7 separate regions of the Homo sapiens genome follow, and all the other regions are linked to region 7. Evidence: promoter capture Hi-C in 16 types of primary human blood cells and fetal thymus (Javierre and others, 2016). All regions are on one chromosome and are shown on one strand. Each heading gives the region's core, a stretch centred on a gene start or on the middle of the fragment in contact. The rest is flanking DNA. Distances are from core to core; before and after follow the strand shown. Region 1 overlaps POT1 (protection of telomeres 1). Region 2 overlaps POT1 (protection of telomeres 1). Region 3 overlaps POT1 (protection of telomeres 1). Region 4 has its middle 3.1 kb from the start of GPR37. Region 5 overlaps POT1-AS1 (POT1 antisense RNA 1). Region 6 overlaps POT1 (protection of telomeres 1). Region 7 holds the start of WASL (WASP like actin nucleation promoting factor).

Evidence for each region. The method cuts DNA at HindIII sites, captures the fragments that hold promoters and counts their contacts. A CHiCAGO score of 5 or more calls a contact.
Region 1: a contact is called between a fragment that was not itself captured here and the fragment with the promoter of WASL in region 7, in 2 of 17 cell types (M1 macrophages and M0 macrophages). The highest score is 6.3, in M1 macrophages.
Region 2: a contact is called between a fragment that was not itself captured here and the fragment with the promoter of WASL in region 7, in 3 of 17 cell types (naive CD4 T cells, M0 macrophages and total B cells). The highest score is 6.9, in naive CD4 T cells.
Region 3: a contact is called between a fragment that was not itself captured here and the fragment with the promoter of WASL in region 7, in 1 of 17 cell types (total CD4 T cells). The highest score is 7.3, in total CD4 T cells.
Region 4: a fragment that was not itself captured here is called in contact with the fragment with the promoter of WASL in region 7 in 1 of 17 cell types (erythroblasts); the score reaches 6.0 in erythroblasts.
Region 5: a contact is called between a fragment that was not itself captured here and the fragment with the promoter of WASL in region 7, in 7 of 17 cell types (non-activated CD4 T cells, activated CD4 T cells, total B cells and 4 more). The highest score is 13.5, in non-activated CD4 T cells.
Region 6: a fragment that was not itself captured here is called in contact with the fragment with the promoter of WASL in region 7 in 1 of 17 cell types (naive CD8 T cells); the score reaches 7.3 in naive CD8 T cells.

What each region holds. Positions count from the first base shown.
Region 1 is chr7:124,828,295-124,832,074 of GRCh38, reverse strand. POT1 (protection of telomeres 1) reads left to right here. Exons shown (of 19, transcript NM_015450.3): 16 at 2,733-2,821. Among named protein-coding and RNA genes, the nearest start is that of LINC03043, 39 kb to the right of the region's middle. The HindIII fragment of the contact is 1,197 bases long and covers 1,360-2,556 here.
Region 2 is chr7:124,859,626-124,862,891 of GRCh38, reverse strand. The region is part of intron 8 of POT1 (protection of telomeres 1); the gene reads left to right. Among named protein-coding and RNA genes, the nearest start is that of POT1, 69 kb to the left of the region's middle. The HindIII fragment of the contact is 5,300 bases long and covers 1-3,266 here.
Region 3 is chr7:124,908,475-124,912,309 of GRCh38, reverse strand. All of the region lies in intron 3 of POT1 (protection of telomeres 1), which reads left to right. Among named protein-coding and RNA genes, the nearest start is that of POT1, 19 kb to the left of the region's middle. The HindIII fragment of the contact is 5,639 bases long and covers 1-3,835 here.
Region 4 is chr7:124,767,008-124,770,724 of GRCh38, reverse strand. No RefSeq gene overlaps it. Among named protein-coding and RNA genes, the nearest start is that of GPR37, 3.1 kb to the right of the region's middle. The HindIII fragment of the contact is 912 bases long and covers 1,568-2,479 here.
Region 5 is chr7:124,932,075-124,936,421 of GRCh38, reverse strand. All of the region lies in intron 1 of POT1-AS1 (POT1 antisense RNA 1), which reads right to left. Among named protein-coding and RNA genes, the nearest start is that of POT1-AS1, 4.4 kb to the right of the region's middle. The HindIII fragment of the contact is 1,618 bases long and covers 1,801-3,418 here.
Region 6 is chr7:124,887,961-124,891,871 of GRCh38, reverse strand. The region is part of intron 6 of POT1 (protection of telomeres 1); the gene reads left to right. Among named protein-coding and RNA genes, the nearest start is that of POT1, 40 kb to the left of the region's middle. The HindIII fragment of the contact is 556 bases long and covers 2,280-2,835 here.
Region 7 is chr7:123,746,949-123,750,937 of GRCh38, reverse strand. It overlaps WASL (WASP like actin nucleation promoting factor), which reads left to right and starts at 1,935. Exons shown (of 11, transcript NM_003941.4): 1 at 1,935-2,320. The coding sequence starts at 2,204. WASL-DT (WASL divergent transcript) reads right to left here and starts at 1,743. Exons shown (of 1, transcript NR_170281.1): 1 at 1-1,743. RefSeq lists silencers at 1,653-1,972, 2,433-2,522 and enhancers at 1,551-2,205, 2,965-3,014. The HindIII fragment of the contact is 6,394 bases long and covers 1-3,989 here.

The DNA of each region.
Region 1 (3,780 bases), core at 709-3,208, 1.1 Mb before region 7:
GCTGTTCTTGAACTCTGGAGTTCAAGCAATCTGCCTACCTTGGCCTCCAAACTTTTTTTTTTTTTTTTTTTTTTTATTTTTAAGAAATTAAATGTTACAGAGAAGTAGTATAATGCCATATCAATCCCTTCTCTAACTCTTTTTTCTCAGAGGTAGCTACTTTTCCAAACTTGGATTAAATCCTTCTCATCAATGTTTTTATGCCTTCATTATATGTGTGAACTCTTAAGCAGTATGGCATATTTTTCATTTTTTAAATTTATATAAACTGTTTCGTACTATGCCAAGCCTTTTGCAGCTTGCTTTTTTTGATTCATTAAAATTTTCAAGATTTACCACTATTGACGCATGTAGATTTAGATTATTTAACATCTTTGGAGTATGTTATGAAATATCAGAATTTATTAGCCTATTTTCCTATTAATGGATATGTGTTATTTTTTGTTTCATTTACAGACCATAATGAAGTCACGTTATATGTTTTCTTGTCTATTTCCCTTGTCATAAAATGAGTTCAGTGGGTCATAAACAGTTTTTTTTTAAATTATATGATGTGGTTGTAGTAAAAAATGGAATGAGAGGGAATGGATAATAGAGAACATTTTACACAGTAAGGGTCAGTGTTGTTTCCTAAACTTTCATTTCAATTGTATGTGTATGTATGTATTACTAAGATATGATATTAAATGAATTTCTTACTGTGAGTCCTTAACAAAAATGTTTGAAAGTTACTCCTAAGGTGTTTACCTGAAATTAGAATTACTGGATTATAAGGTGTATATAAGTTTTGCTTTATGGGAAGAAATACCAAATTGTTCTTCCCATGGTTTTAACAATATATGGTCCCATCAGTAATGTATAAAATTTTAGTTTCTACCAAGTTCACTCCAACACTTGGTATTAGTCTATTTCTGTCTGATACTTGGCATTAATTTTGTAATTTTGTCAGGCCAGCGAGCATCAGATGGTATCCATAATGTTTTTATTTGTATTTCCTAGATGTCTAGTGTGTTTAAGCAGCCCCCGTGTTTATCAGCTACATAGGTTTCCTACTCTATGAATTCCATGTTCACATCTTTTGCCTGTTTTTCTATGTGGTTACTGATTTCTTTGTTGGTTCATGTGTGAGCGCACATACATGTAATTGATTGTAAGGTTTCTTTCCGTGTTAGAGATACTAATCTTTGTCAGTTTCATCCATACTTCTAGTGTATTCCATGCCTTTTTAACTTTATGGTTTCTTGTGTTTTATAGGTTTTTTTAAAATTTTTGTTTGGTAATTGCTTTATAGGTTACTCTCATCCCTTTGCTTTCAAGTTTCTGGCATTCTAATTTGTATGTCACTCATAAATAAAAGCTTATGGCTAAATTTTAGTTTTAATAGTGGAGTTTAAATATGTTCTTAAGTTATTGATATATTTAGTTTATGTTTCTAATTTTTTCTGTTTCCCCTTTCACTGCTTTGGAAGTAAGTAGTTCTGTATTTAATTTTGACTTAATATCCTTAATTTTTAATTTTTATACTAACTTTAATAATGTCTAATGCTAATCAATATCGTAGTCTTTTTCTTAGGCAATAATATTCTTTTGTTAAATTGACATCTTTTATTAGAAAAGAAACACCTATATATTTAATAAATAGAAGGGTATAAGATGTAATGTGGTTACCCTCTTGTTTTCCTCAAAGTGCAAATGAAAACAAATTGCATGGACCTTTCGAACTTTTATTTTTATTCAAGTATATCTTTTCAAGTATATTTTCTTATCAACATCTCATAAACATTATGATGATGCATAATAAAAAATAAATTACTCATAGTTAAAATATGTTGGTATTCAAGTAAAGCAAAATAACTGTACTACACAATGCACAACTTTAGTGTATTGTGTAGTCTTAGATTTATATACATTTCAAAAGTTAACTATGGAATTAGGCATCATAAACTACAAACCTCTGGATATGTGCTTACTAAAAATATTAATTATCTAGAATCTTGCATGTTGTGACTGTTTAGTAATTTTTCTCTATTGGCCATATTTATTAACACTTTGAATTTATTAAGATATTACTTACAGAGGCCAGGTATGGTGGCTCACACCTGTAATCCCAGTACTTTGGGAGGCCAAGGCAGGCAGATGGCTTGAGCTCAGGAGTTGAGACCAGCCTGGGCATTGTGGCAAGACCCTGTCTCTATAAAATTACAAAAATCACCCAGGCATGGTGGTGTGCAACTGTGGTTCTAGCTACTTGGAAGGCTGAGGTGGGAGGCTCACTTGAGCCCAGGAGGCAGAGGTGACAGTGCCTGGGTGACAGAGTGAGACCTTGTCTTAAAAAATATATATATATAGATATAGATATAGATATAGATATAGATCATAGAATCAGAGAATTCTTAGAGATGATCATTTTCTTCAACTTTTCATTTTAACAAATAAGGAAATTGAGAGCAAAATTAATTAATGATTTGGACCTGGAACCGAGCACCCTGTTCTCAATTTAGAGTTGTTTATTCTGAATCTTATACTGTCTTTTTTATTGCCCTTATGTAATAAGCTTACTCTTTCATAATTCTCTTGTGAAACAAACAAGCACATTACAATATAGGGGATGCAGTATTCTTCTGTTTAATAATTTATATTTTAAAACTACACATGTTTGAGCAGTAAAAAGTTATAACAAACAAGCTAAATTATTTTTAAATATTTATGGTTCTTTCTTTTATAAATTTCAGATGTAAACAGTGTTCTAGTTTGAGATCCATACAAAATCTAAATTCCCTGGTTGATAAAACATCGTGGATTCCTTCTTCTGTGGCAGAAGGTTAGCTAAATTTCCATGCCCTGCAATTTTAACTGTTTGTTTACAAGGTTATTTCACCTACTTATATTTCAGTATACCTGAAAGTATACCTGTTCCTTCTTTGTATACTTATTCCTTCCTCTGTAAGATAAACAGACTTTGTAAATTTAAAGATATCTGCCAAGCCTTCCTTTAGTCTGTATTTCTTCAAGCAGGCACCGTCACATACTTTCCCCTATGCCTTACTATTTTGTTTTTCCTCCTCAGTAAGCATTCCACTTTACCAGTGCTTTTCTCAGAATTTGGCATTCAGAGCTGGACATTGTGCTGCAGATGTTGTTTGGCCAATTCAGAATAGAGTGAAATTATTATTTACCTGAAACTGGACACTCAGCTTCTACTAGCCTGAAATGTCATTGTATAGCTATTTATTTGTACACTTGGTTTTGTTTTCTTTCCTTTTTGATACAGCCATCTCATGTTTTATTTGTGGTCCAGTGAAATCCTAGGGTCCTGTCACATGAACTTCTTGAACTTGGTCTTCTCATTCTATTCTTAATGTAATTTTTTTTTCTGTCACATGAACTTCTTGAACTTGGTCTCTTCGTTCTATTCTTAATGTAATATCTTTGTTTTTATGGTTCCTGGGAGTAGGTGCTAAGTTCATCTTTCTTAGTTTTAGTTCACAGTTTTAACCTATTGAGACCTTTTGAAGCCTAAAATTCAGTTCCCCTGTATTAATGTCTGTTGTATGCCCTAGTTCATGTCTGTATGTCCTAATTTATTCTTACTTTCCCTGTTAATTAGTTATACTGTTTAAATATGGGTTCCACAGATAAAAGCTAATAAAACATTCTATAAATTGAGTATCTTCCATTTCCAAACAAGAAGATATTTATCTTAACCTGTGAATTTTCATTTTACCCAGTATGTCTAATTTCTTATTTCTTCCTTATCTTACCAAATTATTAAATCTCAGA
Region 2 (3,266 bases), core at 374-2,873, 1.1 Mb before region 7:
ATTACTGTGTTTTGCTTTTAAATCAGCAAGATAAAAAAATAACTTAAGACCCATCAAATCTCTGTATATACCTATCCCAGTTTAGAGAGTAACTTCTGGAGAAGCTGGATGTTTGATGTTTTTCTTGCCTGGACATCCTATGGAGGATACATTTGAACAAATGCCTCTTCAGGCCTGCTCCTATGGTTATTTCTCTCTATACTATCTTTGGAATAATAGGGCAAGAAATGGAATGCAGTGGCACTTGGACAAGTCATGGAGTTTAGCATTATTATGATTTACACCTTGCCCATATTAAAAAACAGAGAAGTTAGAAATCATTGAATAAAATACAAAGTTCTAGCAGTTGAAAATAGCACACTCATATACACATGGAATATTATGAGAAAGTCGTAAATACATGCCCTGCAGAAAGTTAAATAAGTCAAATATGATAAAGCTGAAGCTAAAGCAATATAAAATCAAACAAACTTAGAGCGAATCTAGGTCAACCAGTCATACTCTGGCAAAAGTGACATTCTTAACAAATGAGCATTTGCTAACAACTGAACACTTCCTATGACAAGGACTCTACTACTATGCACTGAGGCATATTCTATCTTTTGACTGTGTTTTTAGAAAATTCTTAAATTCTAAGATAAAATGTGCCAACTTTTAGCTGAAATAGTTGAGTCTACATTTTCTCTCTGCAGAAACACAGCACATACCTGCATCCCATTGTAACAGATAACTTTTTTGGACAAGTGAAAACCACTGTCACGTAACTGTTAGTTTAAAATACAATATTGAAAAGTCAAAAAAGAGCCCATATAGCCAAGACAATCCTAAGCAAAAAGAACAAAGCTAGAGGCATCATGCTACCTGACTTCAACCTGTACTACAAGGCTACAGTAACCAAAAAAGCATTGTACTGCTACCAAAGCAGATATATGGACCAGTGGAACGGAACAGAGGCCTCAGAAATAACGCCACACATCTACAATCATCTGATCTTTGACAAACCTGACAAAAACAAGCAATGGGGAAAGGATTCCCTATTTAATAAGTGGTGTTGGGAAGACTGGCTAGCCATATGCAGTAAACTGAAAGTAGACCCCTTCCTTACACCTTATACAAAAATTAATTCAAGATAGATTAAAGACTTAAACATAAGCCCTAAAACCATAAAAACCCTAGAAGAAAACCTAGGCAATACCATTCAGGACATAGGCATGGGCAAAGACTTTATGACTAAAACAATAAAAGCAATGGCAACAAAAGCCAAAATTGACAAAAGCCAAAATTGACAAAGTTAAAGAGCTTCTGCACAGCAAGAGAAACTATCATCAGAGTGAACAGGCCAACCTACAGAATGGGAGAAAATTTTTGCAATCTGTCCATCTGACAAAGGGCTAATATCCAGAATCTACAAGAAACTTAAACTAATTTACAAGAAAAAACAACCCCATTAAAATGTGGGCAAAGGATATGAACAGACACTTCTCAAAAGAAGACATTTATGTGGCTAACAGACATATGAAAAGAAGTTCATAATCACTGGTCATTACAGAAATGTAAATCAAAACCACAATGAGATACCATCTCACGCCAGTTAGAATGGCAATCGTTAAAAAGTCAGGAAACAACATGCTGGAGAGGATGTGGAGAAAAAGGAGCGCTTTTACACTGTTGGTGGGAGTGTAAATTAGTTCAGCCATTGTGGAAGACAGTGTGGCGATTCCTGAAGGATCTAAAACCAGAAATACTGTTTAACACTGCAATCCCATTACTGGGTATATACCCAAAGGATTATAAATCATTCTCCTATAAAGACACATGCACACGTATGTTTATTGTGGCACTATTCACATTAGCAAAGACTGGGAACCAACCCAAATGCCCACGAATGGTAGACTGGATTAAGAAAATGTGGCACATATACACCCTGGAATACTATGCAGCCAAAGAAAGGATAAGTTCATATCCTTTGCAAGGACATGGACGAAGCTAGAAACCATCATTCTCAGCCAACTAACACAAGAACGGAAAACCAAACACCGCATGTTCTCACTCATAAGTGGGAGTTGAACAATGAGAACACATGGAGACAGGGAGGGGAACATCACACAATGGGGCCTGTTGTGGGGTAGGGGGCTGGGGGAGAGATAGCGTTAGGAGAAATACCTAACGTAGATGACGGGTTGATGGGTACAGCAAACCACTATGGCACGTGTATACCTATGTAACAAACCTGCACATTCTGCACATGTATCCCAAAACTTCAAGCAAAATTTAAAGAAAAGAATTAGTAAAAGCCTTTCTTACAACAATTTAAGAATAAGCCTCAAAAGTCTTTTTGTACCCTTCAACTCAGCAATTTTATTTTCATTATCTTAAGGAAATAATTTAAAATATTTACAAAGGTGCATTTAAAAGAATATATTTATCTTTCTTACAGTATAAAAAATGAGAATACAGTAGAAAAATTAGAAAAAAACAAATACTAACAATAGAGAATTGTGTACACTATTTATGTAGGATGACCATAAAATAACATTGTAAATGTCACCATAAAATACTTTGTAACCATAAAATGACATTATAGACATACACTTGTTGAGATAGAATTTCATGATGGTCTATTTAGTGATTACTGTAGTTTCATTTACACACTAAAAATGTATATGTACATAGCAAAAATATATTGGGAGGCCTATAAAGCAACATTTTACTGTTTTCAACTCTGGGAAATATGAGTGATTTTTTTTTTCCGGACAGTGATTTTCTTATGTATCAGAAATAATTTTTAAATTATATTTTTTAATAACAGAGGAGCTAGACATTACTCGATATAATGTCTGGTTACATACAAAATAGTATAATCATTTTCCATCTCAACCTGGGCACAATATTAATATTGGTACCTTTTTTACTAACCACAGTGCATTTATTTTAATTTTTCAGTAGCCGTGGTATACCAATCGTTTGCATTAAATATAATTTAATAAATTTGTTGATCTGACATCATTCCATATTTTTCTCTATTCTGTTAATATTATATGTTTTTTTTTTCTGAGCAATACTCTCAAATTGAGTTTTCTCTAAATGTATATATTCTATTTGTTTTAATATCTACAGTATTGGTGCGGCCTTATCTTTTGTGTGTTTTGTTTTATGGTTTTTTTTTTTTATATAAATAACCAGGCGTCATTTATAGCCAGAGCTGGTGGGTAATTTGTATGTCTCACCTGTAATACGGTTTGGAGAAGAAAAAGCATAATGTGAAC
Region 3 (3,835 bases), core at 397-2,896, 1.2 Mb before region 7:
AAAACCCAGCAGGTGTGACTTGGAGTTAAAACCCTTAATTCCACTGAGTTTTTTTTTTTTCCCCCAATTTTAAAGATGGAGGTAATGATATCTGCTTTTCTGGATTGTTGAAAGAACTCAAGACAGAATATAGCCACTACTAGCACATAGTGGGAACTCAGTACATAGCAACTATTATTATTGTCATTACTATTATTGTAATTAGATACAGCCTCAGTGAGGAAGAAGAGAGTAGAGGGAAGACATCTGAACCCTGAGCCCAGTAGTTTAGCTTCTAATCTCTGCTTTTCTTCAGTTAATTATTGGCCCTTGAGTAACATTGAATGTTGCCAGATTCAAATTTAATCAAATATAAAATAAGGGTTTTGGATTAGCTGAGAATTCTGAATAGCTATGACATACAGTAGTTGCAGAAATTGTGGTGGTTTAAATAATTCAATGCCCTTGAGAAATGGTACCATTTTTGTAAAACCTGTGGGGTCTGGAATAAAGATCCATTTCAAGCAAGCTGTTAGAACATCTGCTTTTATTTCCTTGTTACAAGAATTTTGTGATACATTGTCAAACTCAGATTTTATCTTTTTTGCTCAAGTTGCTGTGAAGAACTGTTAAATCAGTTAATTTTTTTCTCACTTCTACTTTGAACAAAGAAAAGGAAAATCAGTGTCGTGTTAGTTTTCCATCTGCAATGCTGTTACTAATCAGCGGTATATCTTAAAACCTTGCTTTAGAATTTAGGGAAGTAATGCATTTGCCATACAGTTCATGTCCTAAAGCTCATAGAACAAATCATCGGACCATTTCTCTGAGATTGATTGCTGATAAAATTTTTAAAATATTGATTGAAATATAGTTCTAATCTAGTCGATGTGGCACAAAAATTCTAGAGACAAATATACTACAAAGAAGTCTCTTGACAGTCATCAGGGAAGGACACTAGGAAATAAAACAGAAAAAAGCGTGAGTGCACATACACACAATCATGCCTGCTTGAGGCGATGTCAGATAGGAATTAATTGCTCCAAATGAATCCCTTTGTAAATATCTATTTTGATAAGGTGCTTTTGTTAGTTGGTGGCCCCAGTAAAGGTCTGCTGTCATTACTGTTATTTGTATTATTCTTCCTCTTGAAGGCAAGACTTTATTTCAGCTTAGTTAAAATTATTAATATTTGAGATGACATTTCTAAATTATTAAGAATTCAGTGTTGGTAGCTTATAAAAATTTTGCATTTATGAATGTTAAATAAATGTCAGGTGCAAATATGAATACAAAATCTCATTCACTAAAGAATTTTTGAAACATTTGTTTTAACATAATACAGAAAATAGTGTTGGGGTAAATGTAGGTAGAGTTGCTCTGAGAGAGGTGTGTGTACATTATATTTGTATGAATACATTTAAAAATGTATTTGAGTGTATCAATGTGTTATGCTTTTTCTCATGACTCTTAGGGTGTGTCTGATTGTATACCTGTCTGTATTACACACCTATGTGTGTTTATGTTTGTTGGGAATTCATAACTTAAAGGGTTTTTCTAGTTAACATTTTAGATGTTTTGAGGTATGATGTAAAGAGATGCAAATTCTAATTTCTTGTGAGGTAAGGAGATTAAATAACTTATTTTTCTGTTTCTTTTCCTATCCTTTGTTTATTTTACATAGTTCAATAGCAAATAAGGTCTATATTTAAAGAGCCATTAGATAGTAAAAACCACTGTTTCTTTTTCAAACGTTTATTATAGCCAATTTTTAACATTTAACCAGTTTTTTTCAGAATTAAAATTTAACTAATAATATTATATTTGTATGAAATCTTACAGATTGCAAAGTGTCTTCGTATATGTTTTTCATTTAAGTATTAACTGTTAGCCCTCTGTGATGATGGTGATAAGCACTTTTATTATGAAGATAACCCTCTAAGGCTAACATTTGTTAAAGGACTTAGAATAAGTAGAGAAACCGCTCTATCTCCACACCTTTTTTTTCTTACCTCATGGTAGTATTATGGACTTGACAATCTTGCAAATATTTGTCTGAGAAGATTTTGTTGTTTTTGTGTAGTCATGATTTAAAAACATTCAGACAGTATGGCAGGCTATAAACTGAAAAGCAAAAGTTCCCTCATTCCCACTGAATCCCTTGCCATTTCCTAGTCCCATTCTTCAGGTAAAAAACACTGCTATGCTTTTTTTAGTACCCTTCCAGGTTTTTTATATGTGTGTCTATATATGTGCACATGCTTTTGTGTGTGTCTGTGGGCATGGATAAGCCTGTATGTGCATATTTTTCACCAAGTAACTATCTGTTTTTTGCAAGGTTGCTTTATTTTTACCTAATATATCTTGGATATTTTAGAGATGTGTTTTAAAAATAAATACATGCTATCGAATATCAGAGATCAATTTGTTTATATTTTAAATATATTTCACCTTTATCCTTTAAGATTTTTATATTAAATGTTTATTTGAGAAACAGTATAAAAGGGTTATGCTATGAATTAACAAAACATGTATAGTACATCTACAAAACATGTACATTACATTAGGTATTAGTGTTTTACCTGACATGTGAAGTGTTTTCTGCTATTGAAATACATTTTAAATAGGTATTCATTAAAATAGAATAGAACTACACTAGTTAATTAGTACCTGTCAGATAACAGAGGTTGTTAATAATGGTAAGTCAAGGTTTCTTGCTTTTAAAATATAATGATGTGAAGACTGAGGTCACATTTACTTTAAATTATTTCTGGATTTAAAACCCAGAAATGCTGATTATTTGAGGGTCTAATATACCAATTTATTAAAGTATCAAGGTTGAAGATTGTTCCAACCCAAAGGTAAAACTTTTTGCTTAAAGGAATGAGTTTTCTCCAATTTGATTCTTAAACCCTTCTTTGCCATTTGCTTGTTTGCTTAAGGGTAGCGTTGTATTTGAATACAATAATCCTAAAACACTAAAATGAATTTTAACAAGATTTTAATCCTTGCTTTGGTAGACTAATGTGATATATTTTGCAGAAATACACAAGCTGTAATTAAGCCTTCCTCTGTATGAGACATTTTTTGTTTTAGTTTTCATATTTTAAAGTCAGTTTTAACATTTAATATGTGGACATAAAATATGAGGAAAGACTTTTCCAAAGTATTCTGAAAGTTAAAAAAAATTACCCCAAAACTGTCAAAAATAAAGACACTTATTAATACCTTTTTTCTCCCTGTATCCCTGTTAGAGTTAGTTCTGAAAGAGGAATTAGAGTGGTGCCTGTCTTGAAAGTCAGGAGATTTGGCTTCTTGTCTTGGTTCATAGCTAATTAACTGTATGTGACCTTAGATCATTTATTTATTCTCCCTTATCTGAAAAATGAAGATGTTTGATTACATGGTCTCTAAGGTCCTTTTAAGTTCTAAAATGCTAACAGTCTATGAAGTAAGTTTTGTAGCAGTTGTACAGTTTATTTTATTTTAAGATTCGTGAAGGTATACTATCTATATATGTATGAATGTTAATATCTTTGATTATTTATTTAGTTGTCCAAACATTTGTTAAATGTTTTTGTATTCTATGATAGATGTTGGAGATATAGCAGTGAATAAGACAGTCATGGACCTTGCCCTCATAGAGCATAGTGTCCCCTGGAGAAGAATTAAACAATTATTACATAATTATTTTATCCAGATATGATATGTAACTATGAATATTGAATAGTAGAATGAGAAGAGTAATGGAAAAATGATCACAGGGATACTTGGGTTATAGATTGCAAAGAGAGAATAGCATATACAGAGGCCTTGAGCAAGCATCTTGGAATATTTAATGAATTTTGAGAAGACA
Region 4 (3,717 bases), core at 774-3,273, 1.0 Mb before region 7:
ATTCCAATTTGCTAGCCTTTGTTATTTGAACCAGGCTGACACTTCTGCAATTTGGCTTGACTTGCATTTATTCTAGTGTATTATCCAGTATCAACATTACACAGAAAACTAATTTAAATAATAATGCTTGGTCAGAGATGGAGCAACAATATAGAATAAGATGATTTGGTTTAAACAGTCTCAGAAGGAATCTTATTGATATAGCATACAGCTTGTACCCAAATTCTGGGAGAAGGAAGTAAAATGTATCTTTATATCACATTTATTTTGGTATATCTTTATATCACATTTATTTTGGTATTATAAAGATACAATAAAATGTATCTTTATATCACATTTATTTTGGATAATTGTTAAAAAGTTCAGCTTACTATGATTTTTGGAAGATTTACAATTAATGTGCTTGCTAGGGAAAATACACAATTTGAGAAGTCATGAGAGGCTGAAGCCTGAGATGGTCTGATCTCCTGCTACATTGCTATTGGCTGAGGGCCAACTAAGTATCCAAATTATCTTTGCTTCAAAAAGGATGTTGATCAAAAGGTAGGGGTGCATTTCACAAGCATTTATTTCTATAAAGAATTATGAAAGGTTGAGAATGTTTGGTTATGCTTGTGTTAATTCATCTTCAGTTTCACCCTTTTGCATTCAAGTTTCTTTACAAACAACAACAACAACAACAACAAACCGAATCCAACAAAACCCAAAGGACTTGGCTATGCAATTAGTGTGCTGGTCCAAGTATGGTTCAAACATATTTTATGTAGCCCAATGTCTACATTTTTGTCTGGAATAAATAAAAGACTATTTTGATTATTGTTGTTTTATTTTAAATTTTAAGTACTTTAATTTTGATATTTGATTTTTAAGGTAGACATAACCATATTGATATTATATTCCAAGCAGTGCCATTTCCCACCCGTTAATGATAATTTGGCTCTTATATATGGCAAAAGAGAGAGGTGATTAATGAAGGTGATCAATGGAGGCTTCCAAACTAACAATTAATAATTCAGTGACAGAAAGGCTGCAACCACAAACTATTTGGAAAACAGACAAATTTTGAATTTCAGAAAATAATAATCTATTGGTGGTATGTTACAGTTTCTTTCAGAAAAAATGACCCTTTTGAATTATCTGAGGCAAAAAAGAAAGAAAATTATTTGATAAGTGAATTGTGTGCTGGGTAAAGCTTCTGTTCAACGATGTATCTTAAAACTTGAAATAGTAATTTCTCTCATTCTGTGATGTGTGTTATTTCAGCACACCAAACACCAAATGAAGTGTAATAGATTTTATAAAAATGCCAAGGCAGGTAATAATTTACATGTTCTTTTTTTATTAAAAAAATCAATAGTATGTATTATAAACCTTGTGAAATGCTGACACAGGAAAAAAAATCCATGTTCAAATCAGTTTTCTTTGTACAGATAAATGGCCTCAGATGTAAACCAGACAATGATTAGCTAATTCCTTTTCTGATCTATATTTCTAAAGTAGAATCTACACAAATGAATGAGATGTGACTATTTCCATTTAAAATTTATAGTTACAGCTGAGCTAAGCTTTGGAAAAATATTTGAAGATGTGTGTTTTTCTTTTTGCAGGGAATGCATTCTAAATTTTCTTATAAACCTATTACTTTACACTTTTATTTACCAAGCATATTCTTTTTCAAGGATTATGTGTTTTTGACAGCATTTAAATTTCACTAAAAACAAAGTTGAACTACCAAGAGCAACAGTAATAAATATTTTATACTTTATGTAGTCTTTTCATATCTACCTAATCCACATAACAACTTGGGTGAGCAGAGCTGAGAGTAGGTATTAGTATCCTTATTATACAGATGAGAAAATTGTGTTTCCAAAAATATAAATAATTGATATTTTTGGAAACACAATTTTATAAATAATTGATATTGACCTGGGCTCCAATAGAGTAGCTGGAGCTCTTTGGTTTTATTCATGGTCCGAATAAGTTAGAGAACCAGAACTTGGCAACCATCCAAGTAGGTAGGCATCATTGTTCAGGTTAAGGAAGGGACCACTCATGAATGAGATACCACCACAGACAAACACAGGTAGCTCCTCCTTCAGGCCTTTCCCCAGCCACTCTCCAAGCATGGTACCTGAGTTCTATAGCCCACCACTTTAAGAATGATGCCCAACTCTGGGCCAAGCATGTGTGAATTACAATGGAGCTTCTAAGGGAGCAGGTAAAGGGATTTTTCCCTGTTTAGCTTTGATTCCTTTCTGTGTAGTGATAGAGATTAGTGACACATTTATGTGGTCTAGAGTAAAAAGGATAGAAACATATCTTACATGTGTAACTTAAACTCTAAGCTAATGAGATGAGAAGGGAAGCTATATCACTGTTTCATTTTGGCAACTTATTTTTCCTGTTTCATTATTAATCCAGATTTCCCTCTTCTAAATTTTTTTTAAAGAAACAAGATACTACAGTTAGAGTAGAAGCTTCCTTCCATCCCATGACCATTCTTCTATTTCCTGAGGTGACTAATATTCTGAAGTTGATCTGTATTTATTCCATTCACATATTTTATATGATACACCATGTATGATTATCAAATTGTTTTATGTGCATTTTAAGAGCTACACAAATGGTAGCATTATATAGTTAACACATCAAGTTCTACGTTTTTCCCTTACATTTATGTTTCTGAGATTCAGTCTTGGTGATACACATAAGCCTAGTTTGTCCTTTTTATGAGTATACAAGAAAATATAAATTCAGTGAGAGCAGAACTTTATTTTATTCACTGCTCTGACCTAAGTAACTTGAGCAGAATATTTCTTTAATGAAGTAGTGAATTTGAGAGAATGAGTTAGTGTATATAAATGAATGAATTAATGTACAAATGAATGTGTGCTATTAGCTTATATTTTTTCCTATTTCTGGCTTTGTCTGATTTTGACATTAAGGTTATTCTGCCTTCACAAAATGAACTGAGTAGCTTTAAAACATTTTGTATAAATGTATATTTATTCCGCAGGATATGCTAAGGTCTAGCACTTTCCTCTGGGTAGATCTTGATGAATGATTTGATTTCTTTAATGTTATAGTTCGATTACAGTTTCTGAAAATTTTCTTCTTGAACTATTTTTGGTAGTTTATGTTTTTCTATACAATTATTCCTGTTGTCTCCATTTTTAGATTTAATGGTGTATTAGTTTACTATTGCTACTGCAACAAATAACCATAAATTTTGTGGCTTAAAACAACACACATTCATTATCTTACAGTTATGGAGGTCAGAAGTCTCAAATGGGCTAGTAGATCCTTTTTTATGCCCATTCTAGCTTCCAGAGATTGCCCACATCACTTGGCTTGTGTTTGTTTTTACTCTGACCCTCCTGCCTCTCATTTGTAAGGGCTCTTGTGATTATAGTGTACCCACCTGGATAATCACGATACTCTCCCCATCTCAAGAGTCTTAGCTGAATTGCATTGGCAAAATCCCTTTTGCTCTGTAAGGTAACATACTCACAGGTATTAGGAATTAGGATTCGGACATTTTTTTGGGGGGGCATTATTCTATTTACCACAATTGGTATCATATGTTCCATTGTGTTTTCTCCTGCCTCTCTAGATGTGTTGCTTTAAAAAAATTCAGGCCGGGTGTGATGGCTCACGCCTGTAATGCCAGCGCTTTGGGAGGCCGAGGCGGGCGGATCACGAGGTCAGGAGCTCAAG
Region 5 (4,347 bases), core at 1,360-3,859, 1.2 Mb before region 7:
TATTTTTAGTAGAGACAGGGGTTTCACCGTGTTGGCCAGGATGGTCTTGATCTCTTGACCTCGTGATCCACCCACCTCGGCCTCCCAAAGTTCTGGCATTACAGGTGTGAGCCATTGTGCCTGGCCCAATTTACTGGGTTCTTAAGAGACAGATTCTAACTGGCTCCATCCAGGTAATAGATTGGCTGCCTCAGGAGTCAAGTGATCAGGTGATTATCTCAGTGCAGCCTATAGTCAGGATGGAACAGGATCAAGTGCATAATATCAACATGGCTACATATACAGACTTCTGTGTTTGGAAGGCAGCTGTTAGTGGAGCGTGAACTGCATAAACATGCAAAATGTTGTATATATGGTTATCAGATAATTTTACCACTAGAGGATGCTTAAATACGAGTCTTTCAAAAAACTTTTGGTTTAGTTATTTTTAGTCATGTGGCTAAGTGATAAAAGTAGTGAAAAAAACCTTTAATTAAAAAAAAAGCAGCTAGTCATTTAAATTATTCATTCAACAATAACCAGTGTGAACATTTTATGAATATCATTTCAGATATCTCTGTATAATACATAGAATCAGAATTAAGCTACTGGCCAGAAAGACAGAATTAATTTAAAATAAAAGAATCATAGATGATATTTTAAATTAAAAGTATTAATTTAAATTTTATTTGAATTAATCAAAAGAGAAAACAGTTTAAGTAAAACTGAAGGGATGATTAAACTTTAGATAAATGATTTTTTTCCCCAACAAAACACATAAATTCTTATAAGAATCCTCTGATCTGGAAGAAAGCGAGCTGGAAGAAGAAAGTGCCCATTCGTGTTATGGCACTGAGATGAGCCATGGCCTTTTATTTATTCTCAGGAAACAGCCAACTCTGAGTCTTGAGGGTGCTCAGGCTGACTTTTAGCAGCAGAACATCTAATTCACTGACAAGCCTTGAAGGCTTACTCTGTGCTTAGAAAGAGGTGAATATATATCTATAAAAATAAAATTATATGCCATAGATTAGAAAATTTAAAGAAAAAGATCCCTGTCTTTTCAGAATCACTAGAGAGATTACAGTGATTATACAGAGTCTTGAATTTTACAAATTGTTAGACAACTAAGGGAAAGAACATGGCATAGCCAAACACTTGTAAATATTACCGGAGCCATAGCTGTAATTTATTTCTAATCCAAATCAAGGCACAGAAAGAAAATAAAAAAGAAAACAGGACACATCTGAAGAAGGTTAATTACATGCCTAGAAAAGAGATCATCTGAGAGGCAAACATTCAGGGGAGATGGTGCCCTGACCACAAATGTGAACATCCACATATATTTCTCCAGTAGACTTGACATGAAACTCACATGACTTGATTATGTTAGGTTGTAGGATCATCCAAAAAATTTTCTATGTTGAAATTCCATGCTTTCCCAACAACCAAGTGTTTATAATTTGGTTCCTCATAAGTACTGATATTAACATAATGCCATATTCCAGATATATAGCTAATAATTTAAAACATTTGGTTGGAATTTAATACATTTGTATTACCAGGTTTTTTTAAAAATATCAATGTGAGTTTGTTTAATGTGAGCCAGTTTCACCAGTCACACTCTATTTTTTTGTGTCTAATATCTGAGCATGATCACATAAAATCATTGCCTGTATGAGGGTTATATCTGTGGCAGTCTAGGGATAGCAAAAGAAGTGATGAGTTTCACCTGAAGAGCAAAATTAAGGCTGAATACAGGGTTTAGAGAGTATTTAAGAAAAAAATATATGTTTTGATTAGCCCATAGTTTTTTAAGCTTGAAGCCATATATTTTTATAGGACTGAAATGTACTACAGGTAACTAAAATTTGCCTTGATTATATTGCTGTATTTTCATCTCTGCTTAATTCTTACTTCTCAGGAAGACCTAATGTGACCTTTCTATCTAGGTCAGCTTCTTCCATTATATACTTTCCTAGCACCATGACTATTCTCTGTATCTCACATCATAATCGAAATTTTGCATTGGTTTATCTGAATTTTAAAAAGATATTCTGTCTCCACTGCAAGATCCAAATCAGCCAGGGCCATGCCTGGTTGTGTTTAACTTATTGTTAGATGGCCCTGCTCAATTTCAGATACTTGGTAAATGTTCCCTGAATATTCATTAAGTTTACATATTGCCTTTTTTTAAACATATTAAAAACATGTTATCAGAAATGGTGGCTCACGTCTGTAATCCCAGCATTTTGGGAGGCCAAGGTGGGAGGGTCACTTGAACCCGAAGTTTGTGACCAGCCTGGGAAGCACAGTGAGACTTCACGTCTGCTAAAAATAATTAGCGGAGCACAGTGTTGCCTGCCTATAGTCCCAGCTACTCAAGAGGCTGAAGTGGGAGGATCGCTTGAGTCTGGGAGACCGAGGATACAGTGAGAGCTAGGATCTTCCTACTGTATGCCAGCCAGGGCAACAGAGTAAGACCCTGTCTCAAAAAAAAAAAAAAAGAAAGAAAGAAAGAAAGAAAGAGAAAATGTTATACATGAGTTATATGAGGAAACATTTATTTATATTTTTTGGGAAGTCATACATTTCTTATAGTCTTTCAACAAGAGAAAGTTCGTATTTGTAATTCATTCATATGGATCAATACAGTATAATATATTGACCTACTTATAGTTTATAATTAAAATTTGAATATAGGTTATTTTTTTCCTTGGACAATTCTTTTTTTTTTTTTTTTTGAGACAGAATCTTGCTCTGTCGGCCAGGCTGGAGTGCAGTGGCACGATCTCGACTCACAGTAACCTCTGCCTCCTGGGCTCAACCAATTTTCCTGCCTCAGCCTCCAGAGTAGCTGGGATTACAGGGGTGTGCCACCAGGCCCAGCTAATTTTTTTCGTATTTTTAGTAGAGATGGGGATTCACCATGTTGGCCAGGCTGGTCTTGAACTCCTGACCTCAGGTAATCCACCCGCCTCGGTCTCCCAAAGTGCTGGGATTATAGGCGAGAGCCACCATACCTGGCCCAACAATTCTTAAAATGAGTAGCAACTGAAGGAAAGACAATTTTTTAACTGATGAGGATTTTTTTTTTTTTTTTTTGAGACGGAGTCTCGCACTGTTTCCCGGGCTGGAGTGCAATGGTGTGATCTCAGCTCACTGCAACCTCCACCTCCTGGGTTCAAGTGATTGTCCTGTCTCAGCCTCCCGAGTAGCTGGGATTACAGGTGCCCGCCACCACACCTGGCTAATTTTTTGTATTTTCTGTAGAGACAGGTTTTCACTATGTTGGCCAGGTTGGTCTCGAACTCCTGATCTTGTGATCTGCCTGGTTCGGCGTCCCAAAGTGCTGGGATTACAGGTGTGAGCCACTGTGCCTGGCCTAGGATATTTTAAATAATAAATTAAAAAGATTTATTATTAAAGTACAAAAGCTTTTGAGAGACCTCTTCAATGGATAATAATGTTTTCTCAATTTGTGGTACCTAATATTATGTTTTAAAAATATCTTTATTTTGCTTCCTAGTATGCACTGAGTGATTACATGCTTTACCATTTAAATTTGTAACTTAAACATACATTTGAGAAAAAATTATGTTTGATTTATCTCCTGGCTCAGCTACATAACAATATAAAAATTTGATGCTTTATTGAAATAGGATTTTACAAATCCATTTAGATGTTCATTAGGATTGGGCAGAAAGAATATTAGACACAAGGAAATGAACTCCAACTAATGTAGCCTAGCTATTATTCCTAGAAAATCTCAGGAGTAAGAAGATGATATTGTCAGGCTCTAGAGATGCAACCTGATGATAACAGCTTGCAGGACAGATGGACTGCAAACAGGAATGGGTTAATCACCCCACAATTAATGCAAAGGAAATGAATTTGAAGTGCTGGACATGTTAGGCAATTCAATTTTACATGTAGACATTAACAAGTAAATAGTAAAGGATAATATGAAAATGCTATGAGAGGGAAGATGTGTCAGAAATTTGCAGACTAATTTCTTTCACGTTTGATTTATTTATGATAACTATACTGAATCCTTATATTTATACATCACTTAAAAATTACCCATTTTGCTTTTAGTCTTCATTATTTATTAATGAAAATTTAATTTTAACTTTTCTTAAAATGAACATTTTTACATTGCAGATTTTATATAAAAACTTTTTTCATTGAACCTTTAAAAGTCATAACTTCTAATAACAATTACATTAATTGTTAGCCTTAGAGTAGCTTTTTTATGCTGCTTCAACAGGCATAGAACAATAGTAATGGATTGTTTTGGCATTAATATGTCTTCATTGCCTTATTCAGTTGATTCAATCTCTTTTTTTCCTCTCTTATTATCTTAAA
Region 6 (3,911 bases), core at 1,308-3,807, 1.1 Mb before region 7:
TGTTAATGGATACATAGTATAAAAAGATGCAAATTATGACGTCAGTAACATGAAGTGTGGTGGGGGGTAGAAGTAAAAGTGTAGAGTTTTTGTATGCAATTAAAGTTAAATTGTCAGGTTAAAGTAGATTGCTATAAATATAAGGTACTTTATGTAAACCCCATGGTAACCACAAAGAAAATACCTATAAAAGATACACAAAAGAAAATGAGAAGGGAATCAAAGCATGTCATTACAAAATAATGAAACACAAAGGAAGATAGCAAGAGAAGAAAATAGGGAATTGAGTGTCACAAGACAGATAGAAAACAGTGAATTAAATGGCAATCGTAAGACCTTCCTAATGAATAACTACTATTATTATAAATGAATTAAATTACCTAATAAAAAATCATAGAGTAGCTGAGTGCATTAAAAAAAACGAGATACAACTATATGCTGTCTACAAAAACTCACCTTAGATTTAAGGACACACATAGGCTAAATGAAAGTGAAGGAATGGAGAAAGATACTTCTTGCCAATGGTAACCAAAAGAGGAGAAGTGGCCATACTTACATCAGACAAAAGAGACTTTAAGTCAAAAACTGTCACAACAGGCAGTTTTTGGATATCACATAATGATAAAAGGGTTAATTCACCAAGAAAATATAACAATTATGTATGCTGCTAACATCAGAGCGCTTAATCCATGAAGCAGACATTTCAGAAGTGAAGGGAGAAATAGACAGCAACACAATTATAGTAGGAGGTTTCATTTCACCACTTCCAATAATGGGGGAGACCATCCAGACAGAGATCAATAAGGAAACAGAAAACTTGAACAACACTGTAGACCAAATGGACCTAACAGACGTATCAGACATATGCAGAATATTCTACCCAGCTACAACAGAGTATACATTTTTCTTAAGTGCACATGGAACATTCTCCAGTATACATAACTCGTTAGGTCACAAAACAAGTGAATAAATTTAAAATAGCAAGATCTTTTCTGACTTCAATAAAATCAAACTAGAAATCAATAGCAGGAGGAAAATTATAAAATTTAGATGTGTGGATATTAAACAATACACTCTTGAGCAATTAAGGAAACTCCATGCTGTTTTTTATAGTGTTTGTACTAGTTTACATTAAAAAATGTATGCACCTTGATGATAAATACAGTATTGCTAAAAAATGCTAAGGATAAGTTGAGCCTTCAGCGAGTTATCATCGTTTTGCTGGTGGAGATGATAGGTTGATTGGTCAGGATGGAGTTTTCTGAAGACTGGTGTAGCTGTGACAGTTTATTAAAATAAGACAATACTGAAGTTTCTCATATCAATTGACTCTTCCTTTTACAAAAGATTTCTTTGTAACATGAGATGCTGTTTGATAGTATTTTATTCACAGTAGAACTTATTTCAAAATTTTAGTCCTTGTCAACCCTGCTGCTGCATTATCAACTAAGTTTATGGAATATTCTAAGTCTTTTGTTGTCATATCAAAAATATTCATAACACCTTTACCAGGAGTAGATTACTTCTTAAGAAACTATCTTTCCTCATCCATAAGAAGCAACTCTTCATCTGTTGAAGTTTTATTATGAGATTGCACCAATTCAGTCACAATTTCAGGCTCCATTTATAATTCTAGTTTTCTTACTGTTTCCACCACATCTGCAGTGACTTAATTCCACCAAAGTCTTGAACCCCTCAAAGTCATCTGTGAGGGTTGGAATTAACTTTTTCCAAACCCCTGTTGATGTTGGATTTTGACCTCACATGAATCATGCATGTTCTTGATGTCATCTAGAATAAATACTTTCTAGGTTTTTAATTTACTTTGCCGCAGTCCATCAGAAGGATTGCTATCTATGGTGGGTATAGCCTTATAAAAGGTATTTTTTTTAAATAATGACACTTAAAAGTAAAAATTATTACTTGATTTGTGGGCTGCAGAATGGATATTGTATTAGCAGGCATGAAAATAACATTGATCTTGAACATCTCCATCAGAGCTCTTGTGTGACTAGGTGCACTGTCAATGAGCAGTAATATTTTGAAAAGAATCTTTTTTGCTGAGCAGTACGTCTCAACGTTGGGCTTAAAGTATTCAGAAAGCCATGCTGTGAGCAATGTCATCCAGGCTTTGTTGTTTCATTAAAGAGCACAGGCAGAGTTGGTTTTGCTAATTTTGAAAGGCCCTAGGATTTTGAGACTAAGTGAGTATTGGCTTCAACTGAAAGTCATCAACTGCATTAGACTCTCACAAGAGAGTGAACCTGTTTTTTGAAGCTTTGAAGGCAGGCATTGACTTCTCCATAGTTGTGAAGGTCCTAGATGGCACCTTGTTCCAAGAGAAGACTGTTTGGTTTACATTGAAAATGTGTTGGTTTGTGTAGCCACCTTCGTTGATGATCTTAGGTCTTCTGGATAACTTGCTCCATCTTCTTCATCAGCACTTGCTACTTGCTGTTTCACCTTGTACTTTATCTTATGAAGATGGCTTCTTTTCTGAAATGCCATGAACCAATGTGATAGCTTCAGATTTGTCTTCTCTAGCCTTCCCACCTCTCTTGGCCTTTAAAGAATTGAAGAGAGTTAGTGCCTCATTCTACTTTAGGCTTTGGCTTAAGGGAATGTTGTACTGGTTTGATCATCTATGCAGACGACTAAAATTTTCTGTGTATCAGCCATAAGGCTCTTTGACTTTCTTCTCATTCATGTGTTCACTAAAGTAGCACCTTTAATTTCCTTCAGGAGCTTTTTCTTTGTATTCACAACTTGGCTAACTGGGCACAAGAGTCCTAGTTTTCAGTGTATCTCAGCTTTGGATATATGCCTTCCTAAGCTTCATCATTTGTAACTTTTGATTTAAAGTGAGAGACATGTGACTCTCTCACTTGAACACTTATAGGCCATTATAGGGTTATCAAGTCATCTAATTTCAATATTGTTGTGTTTCAGAGAATAAGGAGCCTCAGGAGAGGGAGAGGGGAATGACAGGTTGATGGGGGAGTTAGAATACACATATTTATTGGTTAAGTACACTGTCTTATATGGGTGTGATTTGTGCTACCCCAAAACAATTATAATAGTAATGCCAAAGATCACTGATCACAGATCACCATAACAGATACAGTGAAAATGGGAAAGTCTGAAGTATTGTGAGGATTACCAAAATGTAACATAGACGCACATACTGTTGCAAAAATGGTGACAGTAGACTTGCTCAATGCAGAGTTGCCACAACCTTTAATTTATAAAATTGCAGTATTACAAAGTACAACAAAGTAAAGTACAATTACATGAGTTATGCCTTTATTAACATGGTCATACTACTCAGTCATCTCAGATTCAATGTATTCCCTATCAAAATCCAAGTAGCATTTTCTATAGAAAAATAAAAATCAATCTTCAAATTCATATGGAAACACAAAGGACCCTGAATAGCCAAAAGAATCCTGAGAAAGATCAAACCTGGAGGCTTCTCTCTTTCTAATTTCAAAATACGTTAAAAAGTAACAGTATTGCGACAGTATGGTACTGCCATGAAGCCAGACATACTGATTAATGGAATTGAATAGAGCGCCTAGAAATAAGCCCACACGTTTATTATGGTCAACTGATTTTCGACAAGGGTGCAAGAATATATAATGGGGAAAGTATAGTCTCTTCACCAAATGGGGCTGGGAAAACTGTATATCCACATGCAAAGAAATTGGATCCTTAGATCCTACACAAAAAAATCAATTCAATGTGGATTAAAGACTTAAGAGTATGACCTGAAACTGAATGTTCTGGAATAAAACAGGGGAAAGGTTTCCTGGCACTGGCCCTGGCCATGATTTTATATACATATATACATATATATGAACTGATACAGAGGTGTATATATATTTGGATAGTTTTAAAAGTAAAGTAAAAAT
Region 7 (3,989 bases), core at 686-3,185:
AAAAAATTTTAATACACAATAACTGTACATATTTATGGGGGTACATAGTGATGTTGCAATACATATAACATATAGTGATTAGGGTAATTAGCATATCTATCATCTCAAAAACTTATGTCTTTGTTTTGGGAACATGCAATATCCTTCTTCTAGCTATTTGAAACTATACAATATTGTTAACTATAGTCATCCTACAGTGCTACAGAACACTAGAACTTATACCTCCTATCTAGTTGTAATTGTGTATTTTACAACTTTGAAGTAGGTGTAATTATCCCTATTTAGACTATACCTGTATGAAACAGAAATTATTTTCATTTTACAGATGAGGAAACAGACGCAGAGAAGTAATTTGTCCAAAGTCCATAGGGTTGTAAGACTCATAACAAGAACTACAACTTGGGCCTATCTGAATCTTATACTTCTGGTACTATACTTGTTCACAGGTTTGAAAAGAGCTTTAATTTCTATTATTTCTCAAGAATTTGTAATGCTTTCTCTTGTCACTGTGCTTTCAACTTAGAGGAGTTGCAGTTTTGATAAAAGACAAACTGATTTAGCTTCTAGGTTTGTTAAATATGTAATTCAGAGGCAACTCCAGGCTTATATTTCTACGACTGCTTTCTAAATCTAATTATTTTATAAATAGTCCTGTTGCTTTAATTCACTTTTTACCCTAACATAATTAATCAAGTTTAACTTTGAAATCTCCATATTTTATGTGAGAACTCCCAAGGCTATCCACTTTTATTTTCCTTTGTAAATTTATTGTTGCTCAGCCTATTTCATTAATGGCAGCTTTAATTATAATATTTTATTATATTTTCAAAGTGCATGATAATGGTTTACCAGTCTGGTTAGTACATCAGAGATTTCTATTGGGAGCTATCAGAGATGTTAACATCCAACAATTTTACCAAAGTGTAATTGTTATAGACGTCTTAACATGAATTTACGCAACAAAAATATGTTTAATGTGGAGAACAGTGAGATGCATATTTGATAATTCACTGCAGTCTGCATCATCATCTCTATATTCCAAAATTTCGTCTTAAGCCGTTTAGTATTTAACTTACAGAAGAAAGGGGGTTATCTTAGATAACTTTTAATATCCTAAGGTATTTTCCAATTCACGATACAGGGAGAAAAGAAATGTGTCCAGGCCCTTAGAAGAAAATACTTTGAATTTAAATGTGACACATACATTAAACCCGCGTGACACGCCAGGCAGGCGGTGGAAGTCAAGTGCATTTGTTTTTGTTTCATCCACCAGGGCGATCTCTTTCACAATTCTGGGAGAGGCCTGTTTGTTCCTCCACTCCCACAGCTGAAGTTTGGGACAAAGTTTGAGAAAATCCCAGGCACCTGCGGCTCCTATCGAAGCCGGCGAGGAGCACAGGGTAGAGCGTCTCTTCCCAGTTTTCAGTCTTCAGATCGCAGGCCTCTCGGACCCGCAGAGCGAGCTTCACGCTGCAGCGCTTGAGAAATAAGAGCTATTCCAAGGAGGGGCCCTGGGTCCTCACTGACGCTTCGCAAAGGTGTACGTCCGCCCAGGGAAGGCCGGCGGCGCAGCGACGGCGAGGAGTCCCCATCCATCTTCTCTTCAAGCAGCAGTAGCTGGGTTCGGGTACCCAACCGACGAGCCGAGACGCCAGAGGCCAGAGTACGAAGTTGGAAGCCTGCGCCCCAAGCCAACCGGGATTCCACTTAGCTCCGCGCGGTCCGCGCCTCGGCCGGAAGGGGGCGTGGCTTCGGGCCCGCGCCGCGAGGCCCGCCGCCGAGTGGGGGGGTTTCTCCCGGGCCGCAGCCGCGCGTTTCCGGCGCGCTCCCCCGCGCCCTCCGTCCTGTGGTCTCGCCCGCCCCCGCTGCCATGTTGGATTGTGCGGCCGCCGCCGCCGCTGCGGGAGGGTTGGGGGAGGAGTTGGGAGTTTAGCGCAGTCGCCGGAGTGCGAGGACAACGACCATCCGGCCCTAGCCTGGCCGGGCGGGTGCCGGGAGCTTCCCTTTCTCAGCGCGGCGCGAAGGTGGCTCGCCGTCAGCGCCTGCTTCCCTCGACCTCGTCCTCCTCCCCGCTCCGGAGGAGCTGCGAGATGTGGCGCCTCTGACTCCACTTCTCCCCGCCCCTGTCACCGAGAGGGGGAACGAGCTCTCGCCCACTCGCCGGAGGAGACGGCCCTGGACTCCCAACCCCGCCGGCGAAACCATGAGCTCCGTCCAGCAGCAGCCGCCGCCGCCGCGGAGGGTCACCAACGTGGGGTCCCTGTTGCTCACCCCGCAGGAGAACGAGTCCCTCTTCACTTTCCTCGGCAAGAAATGTGTGGTCAGTGGACGAGACCCGCGTCGCCACCCGTGACATTACCTCACGGGCCCGGGCTTGGGGGCCGGGAAGTGGGAGTGGGGAAGGAGGCGGGAGCGGCGCGGGCCAGGCCTCCCGCCAGCCCCGGCCCCGGCCCCGGCCCCTCGTCGGCGCCCTCGCCCTGCTCCCAGGGTGCGGGCCGTGGCGGTCGGGCGCCGCCTTCCCGAGCTGCTGGAGAATAAGGGAGTGTCACCTCCGCAGGCCTGTCCTCCAGCCTGGCCGGGCCTCGGCCCGCGCCCTTGCTGCTGGTTAAAACTTTATTCTCAGGCCACAAGGGGATTTTCTTGCAAGAGCCGCTTGGTCCTAGAATCTGGGCCCTTGTTCTAGCTCTCGCTTCACCTCTTACTGCTTGATCTGGGGGTACGTTCCTTAACAATGCCAGGTTTGAGGAGTGGATAGGTCGGGGAAGGAAGGTGGTTTTTAATCTCCCATTAGGATTCCAGGAGGGAATGAAGTCGAGTGCAAGAGCCTGGGCTCTCTTCGGATTAGAGAGGGTGCAAGAAATGTTATTGCTCTTCGTTAAAGAGAAACAAGATTTATTTCTCTAGCAACCTTGCCTAGGCCTGGTTTCTACTCTCCTTCCCACTGATTTTTTTTTTCCCCCCATTGGTGGGAGGGGGTGCTGCTCTCCCCGCAGCCATGCGCAGGGAAACCTCAATCTCTGGTAGCTCTTGGCTTTTGGGGCCGAGAATGATTCTTAGTTTGGTGCTGTGCGGCCAATTCCAACCCCAGATGGCCGGTTGGGAGCGAGCAGTTCTGCTGTGGGAAGGGGAATGTGTGTTGTTGACGGAAGCATTCATTACATTGGCTGCTGGCAATTCTGGGGGTGGGGAGGTTCTGCTCTGTGGTGTAGGCCTTGTCGGGATCATACTGCGGTGACTGGGTTGAAGTGTGGTTTGTTGAAATACTGGCTGGATCCCTTTCTCTCCACTTTGCTAGCACCTGCAGAGTATGTGCCACTGGAACCCAGAAAACACGGAAATTTCAACAAAGCAATACCATTTTATAACTCCTTTAAGTAATATTAGGTATGCCAAACCAGATTTCACCTGCTTCTTTAAGAAGTTAGGATTAGACAATTTCTGGAAAGTTATTGGATTCATTGTTAACTTCATAGGAGTCCACCCTTTGTATCTTGTGCCATCCGGTTGGAGATTGAATCGTTCCATTCAATTTCAGATGTGTTTCATATTTCGGAATTTAGACCTTAGAGAACATTGAGTTTCCTGATTAGAAGGATGAAACAAGAGGAGTGGCTCAAAACGAGAATTTTGGGTAACAACTTTAAGCCCCTCCCCATTCACACACACTTTTTTCAACAAATGAGAAAACTGATCCAGTGAGCCCAAGTCATACAGCAATTTAATAATGTAACCAGAACTAGAAAACCAGGACTCCTCACACCTAGTCCTATCCCATTGTACTTTGCACTACATCATGTTGTTTTAGAAGGGTATTTTTTTTTCCTGTTACTGATTTATTTCTAAAAGTGGTGTTAAAGAAATAACCACTTTGCCTTTTTCACCAAAAACTAATTAAAATACAAGATTCTTAAAGCACCACTAATGTTTGCATATGCTCAGTTTAGGAAAATCTTCAGCACTTTGAATGTTAGTTACCTCCAATGAAAAAA